Linked DNA regions of Homo sapiens: regions 2, 3 and 4 are each linked to region 1. The links are contacts of gene promoters, found by promoter capture Hi-C in human tissues and cell types (Jung and others, 2019). All regions are on one chromosome and are shown on one strand. Each heading gives the region's core, a stretch centred on a gene start or on the middle of the fragment in contact. The rest is flanking DNA. Distances are from core to core; before and after follow the strand shown.

Region 1 (4,587 bases), core at 1,406-3,905:
TTGTAAATTGAATTGTTCTTAGTTTTATTTTTGGATTGTTCATTGCTGGTGTATAGGCTGTGTGTGTGTGTGTGTGTGTGTGTGTGTGTGTGTGTGGATTCCTTAGGATTTTTTATATACAAGATCATGTCATCTGCAAACAGATAGCTTACCTTCTTCCTTTTCAATTGGATGTCTTTATTTCATTTTCTTGCCTAATTGCCCTAGCTAGAAACTCCAGTACAATGTTGAAGAGAAGTGATAAAAGTGGAATTCTTGCCATGCAGAAAAGAGTGAACATAGCAGGCCCGAGACAATAATCCTCAGAAAGGTCTGCCAATCGGGCTGCCAAAATCCTTTTGTTGTAATGAATCATAGCCATGAGTAGGACTATCTCCTGAGTCCTGTAATCCTTGCGTCAAATCATTGAATCTGGTGTGATCTTGGGGAACCCTAATACAATTTTTGTTCCTGATTTTAAGGGGAAAGCTGCCAGTCTTTCACCATTACATATGATGTTAGATGTGGGTTTTTCATAGATGTCCTTCATCAGGTTGAGGAAATTCTATCTCTATCCCATCCTATTTCTAGTTTGTTGAGTTTTTTTTAATCAAGAAAGGTTAGATTTTGTCAAATGCTTTTTTTATTAAGATGATTATGCAGTTTTTGTCTTATTCTATTAGTAAGTTGTATTATATTAATTGATTTTTTTTAAGTTTCTTTTTTTTTAGTGACAGGGTCTTGCTATGTTGTCCAGCTGGACTTGAACTGGGCTCTAATAACCCTCCCACCACAGCCTCCCCAGTAGCTGGAACTAAAGACATGGGCCACCATGCCCAGCTATTAATTGATTTTCATATGTTAAAACCACTCATTCCTAAATCACACTTGGTCTTGGACTTCTATTAAAAGAGACACAAATTTTAAAAATCAACCAAACAAATACATAATTTCAAGTAGTGAAAGTGCTATAAGAATAAAAGAAAAAGCAGGGTAAGGAAAGAGAGAGCAAGAAAGACGGCGGTTATTCGAACTATATTCAGGGAAGGTTTCTCTGAAATAATGACATTTGATCAGAGATCTGAATGACCTGAAGAAGCGAGACATTCAGAGAAAGATAATTCCAGGTGCAAGGACTAGCAAACTGCAAAAGCCCTGAAGCAGGAACCCGCTTAGTGTGTTTAAGGTACAGCTAGAAGGCCATGTGGGCAAGAGTGGAAACAAAGTCAGAAAGAGATGAGAGCAGATCTTACAGGGACTTGTGGGTCATGGTACAGACATTTGGATTTTATTATAATTGTGATGGGAAGGCACTGAAGCATGCTTTTCAGCCTTCTTAAAAGACCTTTCTCCTCCTTAGTTTTCTGGCTAACTCCTATATGTCTTTCAAAATCTAGCATCATCTCCTCTGTGACATGTTCTTTAACTTCCCTGGTAAGATCAGTCCCCTCCTCTGTGACATCTCTGAGTAACAGATTACTGACCTCTTTTCACACTCCTAGTGACCTCATTTGTTTATTTTTTTCACAGAACTGTGTCTTTTTCATATTTTTAACCTCACGTCTAACATAGTGGTGAGTACTAAAGAAACGTTTGATAGGCCAGGCGCGGTGGCTCACGCCTGTAATTCCAGCACTTTGGGAGGTCGAGGCGGGTGGATCACCTGAGGTCAGGAGTTCGAGACCAGCCTGGCCAACATGGTGGAACCCTGTCTCTACTAAAAATACAAAAAAATAGCTGGGCGAGGCAGGAGAATTGCTTGAACCCAGGAGGCGCAGGTTGCAGTGAGCCGAGATCGCGCCATTGCACTCCAGCCTGGGCAACAAGAGCAAAACTCTGTCTCAAAATACAAACAAGCAAGCAAACAAAGAAATGTTCGATAAAAGAAAAACTCTGAGTCATTCAGTGGTGCAAGGTTGGATTCCTTTCAGACCCGACGTAGTTGTCGCCCTGGGAGGTCGGGTGCATTACTTCCCCCAGAGAAAGGTCTTGGGTTTCGGGGATAATGCCCTGGCTGAGAATGCCTCCTAGGGGGAGATCCAACTTCCCAACCGTCAGGTGCTTGCTGTGTTCCCTTTGCACGTCTCTGCCCGTCCTTCCTGGGTGGGACCTTGGTTGGCGGTGAGTGGGGGAAACTTCAGGCTTCCCAGCTCTGCCTCCGAACACTCCTGGCAAACACTTTCAAGGCCTAATCACAAACCCAGGTCCCCCACTTTCCTCTGTAACAACGGAAGTCCCAGCAGCGATGTCCACTCCTGTTCTGGGGCCAGCGTCGCACCGCTCACCCCGCACCTCATCCCTCCGCTCCTCCTTCCTTCTCCTCCACACCCTCTCGGCACCGTGCCCCCTTTCCTCACCTAGGATGCGCGTGATGCCCAGGGTCAGCTTCTCCAGGTGCGGCTTGCTGCAGCCCAGCCCCGGGGACGATGCCTCCTCCTCCATGGCTCGCGACCGCGATTCGCGCGCGGCGGGAGCGGGTGGAGGGCCGGACCCCGCCTCAGCGCCGAGGCCAATTTCATGGCATGCCGGGAACGGTAGTTCTCGGCGCCTGAAAGCGCGGCGCAGTGATGATGGGGGCCCGGGGTTGGTCTGACAGCAGCAGCTCCGTGGGGCGCCGGTTCCCGCGGCCCCGCCCGGTGCCCCACACCGCACCTCCGGGACGTAGCTTCCCCTTCGCCCCCACCCTCTCGCCCCGCAGGGGCCGGCCGCGCAGGCGGGGGCGGGCCTCTGCGTGGTGCGGCCAATGGGGACCGAGCCTGCAGGCCGAGGCGTGGCGGCCCAGGCGCGACGCCCCGAGTGGCGGTTGTTTCAAGATGGCGGACGTGGCGGGCCCCTCCCGCCCCAGTGCCGCGGCGTTCTGGAGCCGGGACTGTATCCTTTGCCCGCCTGACAGGGGGCGCCGGCGCCCTCCACGGGACGGCGAGGGGCGAGCCGTCGCGTGGCAGTCCGAGAGCGGAGGAGAAGCTCCGAACTAACCCCGGGGATGGGGACGTGCTGCTCGGCCCCAGTCTAGGTGCTGGGCTCTCCCCTTGCTTGGGTGTTAGGTGGCCGAGAGACTGGTACTGTCTGCAGGTGTGGGGACACGGCTCAGATGCTTCCCAGCGCTCACTACCGGTGAGCTCGAGAAAGATAGCCTTGAGTCCAGGCTCAGTCCAGGGCTGAGATGGCCCTCCGAGGTCCCTCTGCCCACCCTGTCAGAGTGCCCCCAGGCTGACTTGAGTGTGCGGAGCTAGCTCGAAGTTGAGGGAGGAGTCGGTGTTGGCTGGACAGGGAGCCTTTTTGTTTTGATTTAGGATTGTCTTTAGTCTGCATTGCTAGGAGCAAGTCAGGACCTTTCGGACTTAAAAGGCCCTCCAGTGATGATGTATTTTAATACTGGGGTTTTAGGAGAGGTGTGGAGCTTGGTTACTGGGATGTGGTCTGGTGGTGCTGGTTACTGCGTAAGATGGGAATCATTGTGCCTGGAAGTATTGTTGACTTACTTGTGGAGTGCGGGTCACTGGCAGTCATTGAAGTTCTTGGATCGTTGTGAGGTGGAGAAGCAGTGGAACTTTTTAGTCCAGTGGTAGTATTACCAGTTCAGCAGCAGTGATGAGATGTTTGTGTGACAGGAGTGTTTCTTTCCTTGGAGTAGGTAGACTCTTCTCGCTTGAGCTTTGGTCCTGATAATTTACTTCACGTTCCTTAGAGGGGTTACTTGAAAGAGGGACGGCAATCTGTGTTACTGAGTGCTTGCAGAGGCAGCTCTTTTTGTGTTTGCTAGGATTGGTGATGGCATTAATTGAGGCGTTGCTGTTACCTTTGGCAGAATCACTGGGCATTCTTCTTAGCTCCCAGTGAAACTTACAAAACTGTGTTATCAACTCCTTTGTTGAGTTACTAGGATTAGTGTCATGTGTAGAGAGAGGGATATGTTTGTATTCTGTGCTGCTCGTGTTTAGTGTTTGCACTTACTAGACATAATTACCATTTGTCTCTGATAGGTTGGTGAAAAGCAAATGAAATCATGTACATACACTGTGGATGAAAGCATACTAGTGCAGTGTGCAAATTAAATATTTTTTCCTTTACCTTTCAGAAGAGAATATGTGCACTGTGGACAACTGGGCTGAATTAGGAAGTTAGGAAATTGGGATAAGTCTTTTCTCAAGAAACACTGCTTCTGCATTGACATAATTTTGTGATGGAGGAGATACTTGAAGGTTATTAGCTTATAGCATCCTATGGTACTGTTCAAATATAGAATCAATGGTTTGGGGGGGGGACAAGCTATTGCAATGGGACTGAATAAGTGTATTAATAGATATATGGACTGAACCTAAGCTCTTGGTCTTCGCACCCAGTACTTTCACTTACTCATGTAGTTATATCACCCCCTATTTTATGTAGAAGTCATATATACTCCGTTATCTCTTGTATTCTGACTCCCAACATTTAATGTAAAATATTCGTCCTCTCATAGATAGTGAGGAATTGAAATTGTACAGGGGAAAAATGGTGGCGATTATATCCTATAAGATCTAATTCAGATGTATGAAAGGAATTGCAAAGTTGCTAGTGTCACCTTTCCCCTCAGACTATTCCACGTAATGACCAGTTAACATCGAG
Region 2 (4,587 bases), core at 1,293-3,792, 430 kb after region 1:
GATGCCAGTTACATTTAAGCTTCACATCAACAATAAATACTTTTTACTGTAAGTACATACTTATACTAAAAATGTATCCTTTGTCTATCTGAAATTCAAATTTAACTGGCCATCTATATTTTATCTGACAGCCATACTTCTGGATGCTTTCGAGTTTTCCCTCTCCCATCTAACACCATGCCCTGAGCACATTTCCTGCAAACTGTATTTTTATTACTCTCAGCTCAAGGACCTCCCACCATTTCCACTGCCTACCACACCCCGTGAAACACCCCCCTCTGCATAGTGGAAACCCCCCAGCACAGACACCACACCCCCGCGCCTGGTCTCCCTCTCACTGTCCTCTGGCTCGTCTCACCCCAGCCCCATGCCTTCCTCATCCAATTCTCCCCACGTGGAGTTCCCTCCCTTCCTTTTTGTGTATTTATATCCATCTGCCTTCCTTGTCGTTTCATTATTAGGTGCCTCGCAGATTTCACTGCTATAAACATAATTTTCATCTAAGCTCAGCGCTTAGGCTTCCTGAGGGCAGGGACCAGTCTCCTCTTCCTGACTCCTCAACAATGCCCAGCTCTGGTGGCCTGAGGCAGGTGAGTGGGGAGGGCAGGAGGGGAGCAAAAAGCAGGGTAGACAGAGAAGGAGTTGGGGCAGGACAGAGAGCTGGAGAGAGGAGGCGAAGGGGTGGGCAGGAGAGGGGCCTGGCTAGGTGACTGCCCTGCCCAGGTGTCACGCTCTGATTTAGCCTCGGGCTCAGGCCAGGCCACTCTCACCATGAGAGGAGAGGGGCTACTGGGGGAATGGGTGTGGCTGGGCTCTGCCTGCTGCCCCTCCTACCCCTGTCAAGGTGGCCCCTTTCCCTTCTCAGTAGGTTGGAATTTGTCTGGAAGAGGAAACCCATTTCTTGGACCGGGAGTGGGAGATGGGGAGCCAGGTTGTGTGGGTAGGGAAAGCCAAGAAGCAAAAGGAGTAGTGGGAGAGAGAAGGGTGAGATGAGGCTGGTGAGGGCCATGGAGCAGCTGGGGCGGGGGCAATGTGAAGGAGCAGGTTAAAAGCAGTCGGACACCGGTAGGTTGGTGCGAGCACCGCCCTGTCCTAGGTGAAGCTAATTGGTTTGTTATCTTTACCCACCAAAGCATTTACTTTGGTTAGTCGCCCGATCCACAAACACTTTCGAGGAGATGACATTACCGAAAGGGAGGAACATCTGCATCAGCTCAGCGTCCCCAAACTCCTGGGGCAGATGGTAGATGAACAGGTTACAGCCCTCGGGCCCTGCGGTGAGGGGAGGGGGTGGGCGGGGGAGGAGGGATGGCAGGGTGGGGGAAGAGAGAGACAGAGGAGAGGTGAGCGAGTTAGGCAGCGCAGCAGGGAGGGGTGGGGGCAAGGTTAGGAGGGGGAGTCTCATTCCAGATCCAAGGGCGCCCCAGAAGAGGCAGGGATGCTGAGCCCCGGGTCTGAGCTCCGGTCTCTGCTCTGCCCTTGGGCAAGTCACTGAACCTCTCTGTGCCTCAGTTGCCTTTTCTATAAAATGGATCTGTAGCAGAGGCTTAGAAACCCTAGGGCTCCAGAGGCGGAGTCGACCTACTGCTGTGTCTCTGGAAACCAGGTGCTGAAGATAGGGAAGGCCCAGGAGATCCGGGAGGCCTCCCTCCTGCCCTGCCCCTGCTCTGGGGGGACCAGGGCATCCCCTGGGGCAGCCAAGTCCTGTGCTGGGGAGACCCCCCACTTTCCCTTCTCGCAGGCCAGTCTCAGACTCTGGGATTGGGGTGCCCATCCTCCCCCTGGCCTGCAGCCTCTCTTTCTCATCTGCCCCTGATGGCCCAACTGTCCTGCCCAGTTCCACACACCCAGGAAACCAAGATTTATCCTGCCTCCTCCTGTGTAGGTGCGTAGGAAGCGCTGCAACTGAGGCTCTATGATTAGCCAGGGAACCCTCCAGCCTCATGACATGAAGGTTCTTCATTTCGTTACCACAGTAACAGCCCTGCGACTTCAGCAGCACAAACTATGTGTCAGGCTGTTCTGAGCACTTTACATGTCTCTAACTCACTTAATCCTTACAGCAACCCTGTGACATTATTATCATCATTGCCACTTCACAGATGAGGAAGTGAGGCCCAGAGAGGTTAAGTCACCTGCCAAAACACGCACAGCTGGGAGGGGCCTGGAGCCAGGACATGAGCCTAGCCTGTCTCCATAGAGTGAATTCTTTCCCTCTTGCTACCAAAAATCTCAATATCCCAGATCCCCTGAACACTATGCAGGGCTTTAGCTTTCTAAAATTCCCAATAACTAACCATTTACCTGTTTCTTTTGAAATAGTCAAAATGCTCAATTTTAACTCTTTAAAATGGAAATCGTTCCAAGATGCGTCTTAGATAGCATATGCCACATATAATTTCATCTTTTAAAGTGACTTGTGGTCATTTCAATGATGGTGTCCAAGCTGTGGTGGGAATGGGAAGGAACCAACTGCACCTAGTGTTGTGTAAGAAGCAAGGTTCTGACCAGAGGCTGCTGGAAACCTAGGCATGAGCTCAACAGTGAAGGCTGTAAGGCACCAACATGGGCCGCTGCATGGCTTTCACGCCAGAGCCAACCGTCCTTGTTCTCTGGGAGCCATGAGGCTGCCAGACAACCCAGTTCTGGAGTAAAGGTTCGATTTAGAGACTCTGCACCTTCTCTTCTGCTCCTCTACCTTCCACTCTCCTCCTTTTCTCCATCTATCTCTATTCCCTCAAGGTCCACAGCCTAGAACAAAAATTTCCCCAACCCCTAAAGCTGCCCAAGGAGCCACTGGCTTCCTCCCTCCTTGGTGCTCGCCCTGTGCCCTCTGCCCACCCCAGCCCTTCGGCCTCCCCTCCCTGGACTGCTGGCTCCCAGGCATCCTGCTGGGGGACGGCGCATTCAGAACCGGGCACAAACATGCTCCCTCACCCCCTTCCAGGGGTTCCTGGTGCTGGATACCCCCGAGCTCTGGTGGCCCTCCCCTCACCCTGTCCCCTCCAACCATGCTGTCTTCCCACTGGTTCATGCCCTGTGAATGTGCCCTTGGTGGCCCCCAGCTCCCCATACCCTCCCTCTCTGAAAGAACCTCCAGCCTCTCCCTGCTCATGCCCGAATCCACACTTCATCCTCTGGGGTGGGGCTCTTTCTCTTTTATGTCTAGAGGTTTTTCTCTCCAACCAGACTGGCTGCTCCCAGGGGCATGCTCCTTCTTGTGTCCTCCTGCCCAGCCCCCTCCAGCCCCCCCCACACCTCCCTTCCTCCTCCCATCCTCACTCTTCCAGGCCCTGACTGCTCCAGCCCATGCTGACACCTGCCTTGACTTGGGGCCCTGGCTCTGAGTTCAAGTTCTGCAAGCTGCTTTATGTGGAAGCTACATCTGTTCTCCTTAGAGATAAGGAGCCTTCACAGACAGGGCCCGCAGGCTCAATCCCACATGCGCGGTGTGTGGCGGAGCCCCAGGGATGACTCTCTAGCCCAGGCCTGACGAAGAAGCCAGGGCAGCAGCTCTAGTCCCTTCCCCTGGACAGTGAGCCCACACGCTGTCTAACTCCAGCTACCGCCAAGCCCTTCTGCACTCCCTCATTCACAGATTACAGAACATGCAGATGGCAGAGCTGGCAGGACTTTAGAGACCAATGTGGTCCAGCCCAGCCTTCTGAGAAATGGTGAAGCGGAGCTGCAGAGACAGAAAGCGGCTACCCCTGACCACCTTGCAGCCCTGGCAGAGCCGCTGCGGCAGCCATCCCTGAGGGCAACCTCATCCCATCTGTGGGGCAGATGGCCTCTGGGGAATTCAGGCATCTGTCTGTTTTCAGGCTCAGCTCAAAGATGAGGAGGTGGCAGAAGGGTCCTCCCCTGCCACCAGAATATCCTGGTATTTCCATGACATTCCACATGGGGAGGGGACCATGACATAAAGAAGCCAACTCTTGGCAGGGTTGGAGGAACACAGCCTTCTTTCTTGTTCATGACTCGGACAACTCTGTGGGACACGGCTTTGGCCAGGCTCCAGCCCACCTTGCGCCTGTCTCTCCCTGGCCCCATGCTCACCTTGGACTCTGCAGCAGCTGCACTTTTAATCCCGCTGTTCCCCCTGCCTGGACCTCCTGCCTCCCCAGCTCTATGTGCTGCCAACCTCTGCTCATCCTTCCAGACCCACAGAAGCCTTCCTGACAAACCACTCCCAGTGCCGCGCTCTCACCCGCCCATGCTGTGCGGCTCTGTTGGTATCGTGCATTACTCTTCCCCATCCCCTGCATCCCTGGGGTGGCTCAACCCATGGACCATGGCCTGGGAGAATGGGGACAATAGCAGCAGATCCTGCCACCCCAAGGAGAGGCTGGAGCCAGGACTGGCCACAGAGGGCCTAGACTAGGGAGCAAGGTGTGTGTGTGGGGTGGGGGAGGGGGGGGCAGGAATTGCAGCTGCTCAGAGATGGAGAGAAGGAATGAGGAGGAGTTCAGAGCTACACATATGGGATGGTGGAGTGTAGGGTGGGAGAGGGGCAGGAGGGCCCATGGGGGCCTCAGTTTAAGGCCTGCAGTAGGGGCTGTCATGTGTGTTGGGCAGGGTGCCATT
Region 3 (4,587 bases), core at 1,488-3,987, 410 kb after region 1:
TATGAATACATTATTCAAAAAAATAGATAAAAAATTTTAAAATGCAAAGACCAAATTAGTATGCAGCCTGAGGCCATGTGAGCCCAGAGGAGGAAGGTTGCAGACAGCAGCAGTCACAGTTGCATTGGGAATGCTCTTGCGAAAGGAAAGGGCAAAGAGAGCAGCAGGGGCGCAGGAGTGTCAGCTAATTGGGGTCCCTGGAAAGAGCAGTGAGAGGCAGAGGTGTGTGCACCTCGGCATGACAGGAATTCTCTGGGAGTGGCATATGCTGACTGGACTTCACAAAAAAATGACCTAAAATGGTCTTGTGTCAAGTTCAAGTTTGCTTCTGTTGGGAGGTGGATTGTCAATAGAATGGAATTAAGAAAAGGGAAGGAGGATGAGATCGCAGCCTGAGCCATTCATTCTGAGTATCTATGCTGTAAGAAATTTGCCACTCTGATAATCCTTGGGGTGGAATGTAGCTGAGTGTGGCTGTCTCTTGTTCACTTCTCAACACTCTCGGGGATGATATTATCCCCATTTTAGAGATAAGGAAATTGAGGCTCAGAGAGGTTAAGTAATGTTTCCAAAGTGACACAGAAGGTATTAGAGAGAACTGTGATTTTAATCCTGGTCTGAAGTCAAAGTCCATGCCTTTTTCACTCTGATACCCTAATCCTTCCATCTCCTCTGCTAGTCTGGGAAAGTCCTGGTTAGAGCTCCACAAAGGGCAGAAGCAGAGATGGAGATGCTCAGAGTTTCCTGAAGAGGCAAACAGTTAGGCTGGCAGGAAGAGGGAGAAAGGGTGATACAGAGGGCCCTGGGGAGCTGATGCTGGCTCTCCAGGCTTCCACTCTGTCACTAGCAAGTCCCGGGGCACCTGGGAGTGTTGGGGACCAGAGACTGGGGGGTAACCAAGGGGAGAACTTGAGGAGAGAAGGGAGGGCAGCTTAGAGAAATGGAGGGAGGGTCAGTAGGGGGAGGAAACTAGAAAGTTAAAATAAAAATCTTATACTTGCAAGCATTTATCTGGGGATGGGAGGGTGTGTTGACTATACACTTATTCCACGTGCTGTCACTACTTAAAGAGTATTTCCAGAACAGCTGCCTCTTTGGGACATGCCTTCAGTTGTCCGTAATTTGTCCATTCCTTCCTTCCTTATTCACTCATTAATGCAGGAATGAATCAATATTGACTGAATATCCAACTTCCAGAACTCACTAGTCTGTTGAAGGTAGTACATCAATGGTAGCTAATAATTTTTATTTGGGGGTGGGTTCCATTTGGGTAAATAGTCAAATGGCATTCACAGCCAAGTCTGATGCTGTCACTTTGGGCTGGGCTTCCTAAGCTCACTGCCATATGTCCCTTATCCACTTTACCAAGTGGGCAAGCAAGGTGGGGAATGTTTATCTGTGTTTTATCCACTGTAATTCAAACACTAGCCCTGCAGACCCTGTGCTATGGGGATCTGCAGCTTTGCCCAGATGACTAGCAGCAGTCCTGGAGGATGGAGGCCTTGGCAGTGCTTGCATGAGTGGGGAAGCTCTAGTATGTCTTGTGTTTCTCTCTACCAGTGCTTAGCATGAGGGACGGAGGTGTAATCCTGCTCAGAACAGGAAAAAGGTCAGATCTTTAGAAAAACACAGAGGGAGATGGGAGCATTAAATGAAAAGTCTCATATAAACATAACTTTTTCATACTAGCATCACAGAGATAGGAGGATAAAAGGAGAAGAAAGAGAAAAGAGAAGCTGTGACTACAAAGCTTTGGAGGAAGAGCTGGAAGGACTTTGAAAGTGCTGCTGGGAACAGGTGCAGTTGCCCTGGGGAGGTGCTGGAGAGAAGCCTGGGGCTCCCACCAGGAGCCAGTTCCACCCCAGGATAAGGCTGTGGTGAGGCTATGAAGGCCAAGTTCCCCAGCGGCTGCCACAGCAAGGTTACAGATGCCCAACAGGCCAGAGCCAGCTGGCAGACATCAATGCAGCATGGAAAACATTAAGGGGAAGTGGAGGCATTTAGCAATGAAATGACTTGATACCTGGGATTTTTGTCAAACTACTGTTGGAGTTGAGGTATGCTGAAGCTAGGTAGTGAGTACTTGCCTAAGGGATTCCTTAGGCAAGTGTCTCTACTCTTGTTTCTTGTGCTTGAAATAAAAAGTTTCTAATAATAAGCAAAAGGTCTTTTACAAATAGGGGTGCTATGAAGAAGCCACACACTGCATATAGGATAATAGCAAAGGAATAAAAGCCATAGAATAGAAGCAGAAATCAACAAGAATTTTGTCTTGGGTTCTCTTAACTAACATTGCAAATCAGGAGTTCTTAACCAGGGAGTGATGGATGAGTTGCAGGGATCCCTGAGCTCTCTCTCCATAATCATGTGCAAAGTGATCCAGTAGTTTCCAGCAAGTTTTCAAGGAATCTCTTTTCCCCAGAGGTTAATAAATTGTATTCTCTCTTAAGTGTGCTATGCATGTATCAGTCACCTGGTGCGTGGTTTTTACATTGAAGGTTTCTTTTATAGAACTGGAATGTTCATATCTGGCTCCAGTGTTGTCAGCTCCCCTCTCAGTCAGCCATACCCGGAAGAGGGCGAAATTGCCTGGCTGGCTTCACAGCCCATCTCTCTGGTGACAGCTCCCAGGGTGCCTAAGCCCTTAGCTACAACACTTTAAGTGGAGGTAGGGGAGGGCTATGTCCCAGAGACAAGGGTACACAGTGGGGAGGTGGACACAAACAGGAGAGGTCTGGGGAGGTCACTTGGGGATCTCTGGGAGGCTTCCTGGGGTCTGAAAGAGTAAGAGGGGGTGCTGGGGGTTGAGGCTGTCCTCTTTCAGCTGCAGGTATGCAACAGAAATCACCGTGTTGACTAGTCGGAGGCTCAAAACCTAAAGACACCTCCCCACTCCCCAGAGAATTTCTTAGAAAACACCTTCCATTCTTCTCAGGGCAGAATAATACCCAGTCTGACATCCAGCCCCTTGAAGCTAATTCTTCCAAGAAGTGCAGCTCCCTAGAATGGACACAGCAGGCTGTCACTTGGACTTGCAGCCCTGTTGAACAGCAAAAGGGGGTTAGTTTAGGGGACATTCAGGGTCTCCTCAGTCCCTCTCTCGGAACCATGTCCACATTTAGGTCAAGGCTGGAAGGCCTTCCCTTATTTGCTGATACACGAAGATCTTTCTCTCCAGCCTAATGCATCACAGGCCAACATCAGAAGCACAGATTTGGCCCCTGGCCCTGAAAAGAGAGATGGGAGGAGAGGATGGAGCATGGGATCCAGGCACTGCTCTGTAGCTGGGGCTCTGAGCTCTACTCTCCATACCCTCCTTCAGAGGAGACAGGTGGGGACCGAAGCCATTTCCCCATCTCCCACAGGGGGACACAGACTGACAGGCAGTCAATGACCCTTGTTTCTGGGGCCTTGTCTTCTCTCCTCCAGGCATCTGAACCTTGCAGCTTCCCTGCCCCTCACTTGGCAGCCCTCCTGTCTCAGCAGTGGAGAGAGGTGGGGGCCCTGGGAAAGAGTTGCCCGTTCCTAGACCAGACTGCAGAGCTGAGGGCAGGGGAAGGGAAGGAGGTGGGATAGTGAAGATTGAGAAGGTCTGTCCCAGGCCAGGACTGGGTGAAGGCATGCAGCTGGTGTGCAGCTGTCTGGGCTCTCCTCTCCAGAGGCCTGCCGCCCCTCTCCAAGTCCTGCGTGGTGTTCTTCCTCCTTCGGAATGCTTTTCCCTCCCACCCTGGCATTCAGGGTCTGGACACCTCTCTCCAGCTCGTATCTAAGTGTAGGACAGGCAGCATGCCAGGAAACGCCCCAGGGGAGGGCCCCTACTCTTCTTTCTACATCCTTGCCCCCACCAGGACCCTGACTGAGGGCCCAGAATCCTGTTTTCTCCATCCCTGCAAACTGCCAAAGCAGCGGGAGGTGTGGGGCCAAGAGCAAGATGCTTGCTGGTAAATTTGGAGTTGCATCCTCATCCTTCTTCCTTTATTGTGGCCTCTTCCCTCCACTGCCTCCTTCCCTAAGGTGTCACATAACTTCCCCCCCCAACCCAACACTTGCTCGGCCTTCAGGTCGGGTGGCCTAGGTAGCCTCCTTTCTGTTCTGCTTGGACACTGTGGCCACCTCTGCCAGGAACCCAGAAGAATGAATTTGCAGTGGGGACTTTCAGAGACACACACCAGTCCAGAGAGATTCTTCCTAGAGTGGAACAGGACCTCCTTTTATTGTTCCCATCACCTCCCAGAAGAGCCTCACATGCTGAGGCTCAGAACGAGGGCCTGTGTGGCAGATTCCATAAAGAGGACCAAAGCTACTTCCAGTGGGCAAGCCTTGGGGCTGTGAGGCACAGCTGGCCAGAGTCCGAGAGGCACAGACCAATGAAGAAATATTTTTTTAAACTGTGCTTTATTTAGGGCTAAGCTGGAGAAAGCGTCATCCAATAGTTACAGAAGGTTACAAGGAGTTTTAGGGAGTTGAGTGTGAAAAGAGCAGTTGTACTGAACTGCAGCTGTTTTCTTTTTTTTTTCTTTTTTTCTTTTTTTTTTTTTTTTTTTTACATCTGGACATCCTAAAAGGAGGAGTCAAGAGAAAAAAAGA
Region 4 (4,587 bases), core at 1,535-4,034, 350 kb after region 1:
TGTAGAAAAGACATTTTTTTAAATAGACTACATATCAGTCACATGCAAACTCTTAATGTAAGAGAAGAGCCTATTGTTCTTTATCTCAACAAACCTTTGAAAGTACCAAAGGGAACAAGAGTAAAAGCTCTTCCCCTGTCCACCTTAAATTCCAAGAATTTTCAAGACCTGCAAACAAGGATGGGGGTGAGACAGATGCCAGTGGGAGACAGGTTTTCCTTTGTTCTCTGAAAATACCTAGAAGAGTTCCATTTCATTCCATGTGCAGGTGAAAAAAACAGGTGTGGCAGAGTCATCTTTCTCATTCACAGTGTTGGTTGTTAATTGTTCTCACTGCTGGCTGTCAATATTATGTAAAATTTTCATTCCCCATTCAAGATGGAAAAAGTTGTGGCTGAAAATGTTAACATTTGCATTTTTATTTGTTGATTTATTTAAAGGACAACCTCTCCTACAGCAATCCATCACTTGGTGACACCCCAAATATGAATAATGTATTGTAGACTTGCAGTTACAATGTGTAATAAGTGCTAGAGACAGTAAAGGAATGTTAACTATGTTGCAAATATAATATTTATTAACTCATAAAGTTTATTGCTTTTAAGGTTCAATAATACTGACCATAAGACATCAATATCACTTATCCTGATTTTAGCTGGGCACCTTTGTATGTAGAAATATTCATCTATCTCATGCTAACAAAATAAATATGTAATTTACAGCATAAGCAAAGGGGGCATTATAGTTTTCTGTGCTGAAAGCTGCAGTGTTTCTTTCTCTCCATTTCACTTCTGGCTCTCCACACTGATCACACACCCCTAAGCTGCGTAAGAGAATAAGCACAGTGGTCATCTTGGCACAAGAGGGTGGTGAAGCTGAATTAAATGTACCATTCATTTCTGCTTGAATGGAACAAGCAATGCCCCACAGACCACTCCACCTGGAAAGAGGAGTTGAGGGGCTTTCTCCCTGTCATTCTGAACACCTCAGGGTAGGTGAGCCTTGGCTCTAAAAGAAACTTAAATAAATACCTTTCCTACCAAATGAATGAGTCAGAGTTTACCAAGTCTACTTGATCCTTTAGTCTCCAGTGTGAAGCCAGAGCTGGGCAAGTTACCATTTGCTTCTCAAATGAATGTGTTATGAGCACAGATATAACTGATAATTAACCATTTTGTGCCTTCTAGAATTAGGTGTGTCCATTGTCAACAATAAAGATCATACAGGAAATATATAACACTCAAAGCAAAAGAAGTAATGATAATTAGCAACCATCAGCTGTAATTGTCATCTACATTAAGATGCAGAATTATGTATTTCTTCGTTATAAATAGCCTTTCTAATTGTACTTGATGTATGCCAATTTAATCAAAAAGTATACTTGCAACAGGCAGAATTTGCATTAATGTAGCCTTGGATCTTCAGGTCTTTTATTTCAAATTTGACTGGGAAAGAAGGCCTATTACAGCTGTATATCCTTGATATGTTGGTGTCTTTTTCTATTCAGATGTGTAGATCTGATACATTTTATATTAAAATGAAGATAGTATCTTCTGAGATTGCTCAATGCAACAGAAATCTTGTCACCTTTAAAAATATTGGTGGAGTTTGTATTTTTCAGTCATATGGTGACACAGTGATTGTTGGACCCTGATAAGCAGAGGCACACCAGGCCTACAGTAGCAGGATTAGATTCTCAGTCCCTGAAGTAAAAGGTTACTAAGGTCACTTCTTTCTGTTCTTCTATGACTTCTACAAACAGTTACAGCTGGTGCTCTCCCTGTGCCTTTGTGTGTCTGTGTGTAAGATGTGAAGAAAGAAAGGGAGATTTCACCAAATCACGCCCAACTAGTGAATTTTCAGAACTGGAACTGGAATTAGCCTGTTTCTAGGATGTACTGTTCACTTTTTTAGCTTTTTTTTTTAAAGAAAGATGAGTTTTTAATGACAACACAAAAGCGTTAAAGGTTTTTGTTTTGTTTTATTTTGTTTTGTTTCTTTTTGAGTTACTGGTGGGGAGAGGTGTTGATTTTGTGAAGCTTCTTTTTTCTTGACAGGATTTGGGAAATACTTGAGTACATACTTTGAGGGACTTGATAAATTATTTGGGGGCTTTTAAAAAATAGTTTATTTTTATTAATTGACACATCATAATTACACATATTTATGAGGTACATTGTGGTGTTCCAATACATGTATATATTGTGTAATGATCAAATCAGAGAATCTAGCACATCCATCGCCTCATACATTTATCATTTCTTTATGGTGAGAACATTCAAAATCCTCTCTTCTAGTTATTTTGAAATACATTAGGTTAGTGCAAAAGTAATTGTGGTTTTTTTTCTATTAAAAATAATGGCAAAAACTGCAATTACTTTTGCACCAACCTAATAAAATGCAATATTGTTAGCCATAGTCACCCTACTGCACAATAGAACATCAGAACTTATTCCTCCTATCTAACTGTAACTTTGTACCCAATGACCCCTCTCTCCCCATGTCCCCACCTCCCACTCTTCCTAGCCTCTAGTATCACTATCATACTCACTGCTTCTATGAGATCAACGTTTCTAGATCCCACATACAAGTGAGATTGCTTGTTGGAAAGCAATTGAGGCCAAGTCAACCAGTTCAGTATTTGTTTTTTGTGCCCGGCTTATTTCACTTGACATAATATGCTTCAGGTTCATCTATGTTGCCACAAATGACAGGATTTCATTCTTATTTATGGCTGAATAGTATTCACTGTGTATATATACCACATTTTCATTATCCATTCATCCATTTATGGACACTTAGGTTGATTCCATATCTTGGCTATTATGAGTGCTTCAGTAAACATGAAGTGTAGATATCTCTTTGACATACCGGTTTCATTTCCTTTGGATACATACCCAGCAGTGGGATTGTTGGATCATATGGTAGTTCTTTTTGTAATTTTTTGAGGAGCATCCATACTATTTTTCATAATGGCTGTACTAATTTACATTCCGACCCAATAGTATATGAGAGTTTTCTTTCTCCAATCATTGCCAACACTTGTCTTGTCCGTTTGGTAACAGCCATTCTGACAGGAGCAAAGTGATATTTCATTGTGGTTTTGATTTGTATTTTCCTGATGATTATTGATTTTGAGAATTTTTTCATGTACCCGTTAGCCATTTTAATGTTTTCCTTTGAGAAATGTCTATTCAGGTCTTTAACCTATTTTTTTAGTCACTTTATTTTCTTGCTATTGAGTTGTTTGAGTTCCTTATATATTTTGCATAGTAACTTCTTATCAGATGGATAGTTTGCAAGTGTTTTCTCCCATTCTGCAGGTTGTCTCATCACTCTGTTAATTGTGTCCTTTGCTGTGCAGAAGCTTTGATGTAATCCCATTTGTCTATTTTTGCTTTTGTTGCCTGTGCTTTTGAGGCTATATCCAGGAAAGCATTTTCCTGACCAATGTCATGGAGCTTTTCCTCTTTGTTTGCTTCCAGTAGTTCCATAGTTTCAGGACTTACATTTAAGCCTTTAATCCATTTTGATTTGATTTTTGTATCTGATGAGAGATAGGGAGTCTAGTTTCACTCTCTGCATGTCTGCATGTGGATATCCAGTTTTCCCAGCATTGAAAAGACTGTCCTTTTTCCATTGTATGTTCTTCACACCTTTGTCAAATATCAGTTGGCTGTAAGTACATAGATTTATTTCCATGTTATTGTGTTAATAGTTTAGTTTGAGTTTTTTTAAAACCTTGCTTTGCTGTCAACCATATGTTTAATGTGTTCTGAAAATTTTGCTGTAAGCTCATGCCTTGCTGAGCTTTCTATAGTACAGTTGCCTGTGCACAGCCATGCTCACAAGGCAGCTGTTTAAACACAGCTGACTAGAAGGTGGCTTGTGTGATCTTTGGCCCACTGAGACTGAGAGCCAGGAACTAGGCTCAGAAGTATCTGAAACCTGGGACCATACTCTACCAATCCCAGTCTGGAAGGAATCTTCTCTCTGTTGTGAATACATTATTTATTTATCTTTATTGTTATCTTAAGTAACTTAACATGAAAATCCAATTGCTTCCAGCTCCAGATATGATGGCACAGCCTTTAAAGTACCAGAACAACTGATGGTGTTTTTTTCCTTTGCTGGGCCACAAAGAGGATGTTACTCTTGATTCTCTGTGGGTTATAAACCAAGGCTTTAGCCCATTGAGCAGGTCAGACACTATTTCGTTTCCCATATCACACTGCCAGTAACCATTCAAATTGAAGAGAAGGGAAAGTCACATAAATATGATCTGCTTGATTGTAACAGTGATCTATTTTATCTCAGCTACAGAATTCTGGATTGACAGCTGCCATGGGATTCAAAAGCCACACACACACACACACACACACACACACACACACACACACACACACATTTTTATACTGGGAACAAAAATATAATACTGAAATTTATAATTGCCTGTTCACAATTCTTAGCATAGTACTTTAGCATTGGCAGAATGATTTTAGGTACGTTATTTCATTTAAATTGCATCACAATCCTGTGAGGTAAGGTGAGGTAAGTAGTAGTATTATCCGATTTGACAATGAGGAA

What was found. The method cuts DNA at HindIII sites, captures the fragments that hold promoters and counts their contacts. A contact is called where the count stands out against the background at its distance.
Region 2: a fragment that was not itself captured here is called in contact with the fragment with the promoter of TPGS2 in region 1 in 1 of the 25 tissues and cell types used here (dorsolateral prefrontal cortex).
Region 3: a fragment that was not itself captured here is called in contact with the fragment with the promoter of TPGS2 in region 1 in 3 of the 25 tissues and cell types used here (aorta, dorsolateral prefrontal cortex and thymus).
Region 4: a fragment that was not itself captured here is called in contact with the fragment with the promoter of TPGS2 in region 1 in 2 of the 25 tissues and cell types used here (dorsolateral prefrontal cortex and mesendoderm cells).

What each region holds. Positions count from the first base shown.
Region 1 is chr18:36,826,347-36,830,933 of GRCh38, forward strand. It overlaps TPGS2 (tubulin polyglutamylase complex subunit 2), which reads right to left and starts at 2,656. Exons shown (of 7, transcript NM_015476.4): 1 at 2,337-2,656. The coding sequence starts at 2,421. It overlaps KIAA1328, which reads left to right and starts at 2,781. Exons shown (of 10, transcript NM_020776.3): 1 at 2,781-2,850. The coding sequence starts at 2,793. RefSeq lists enhancers at 2,016-2,125, 2,226-3,018 and a silencer at 2,416-3,015. The HindIII fragment of the contact is 11,405 bases long and covers 1-4,587 here.
Region 2 is chr18:37,257,993-37,262,579 of GRCh38, forward strand. CELF4 (CUGBP Elav-like family member 4) reads right to left here. Exons shown (of 13, transcript NM_020180.4): 11 at 1,189-1,272. Among named protein-coding and RNA genes, the nearest start is that of SNORA111, 210 kb to the right of the region's middle. The HindIII fragment of the contact is 7,935 bases long and covers 1-4,587 here.
Region 3 is chr18:37,238,662-37,243,248 of GRCh38, forward strand. It overlaps CELF4 (CUGBP Elav-like family member 4), which reads right to left. Exons shown (of 13, transcript NM_020180.4): 13 at 4,379-4,587. Among named protein-coding and RNA genes, the nearest start is that of SNORA111, 230 kb to the right of the region's middle. The HindIII fragment of the contact is 8,692 bases long and covers 1-4,587 here.
Region 4 is chr18:37,175,700-37,180,286 of GRCh38, forward strand. All of the region lies in intron 9 of KIAA1328, which reads left to right. Among named protein-coding and RNA genes, the nearest start is that of SNORA111, 290 kb to the right of the region's middle. RefSeq lists a silencer at 67-361. The HindIII fragment of the contact is 3,747 bases long and covers 912-4,587 here.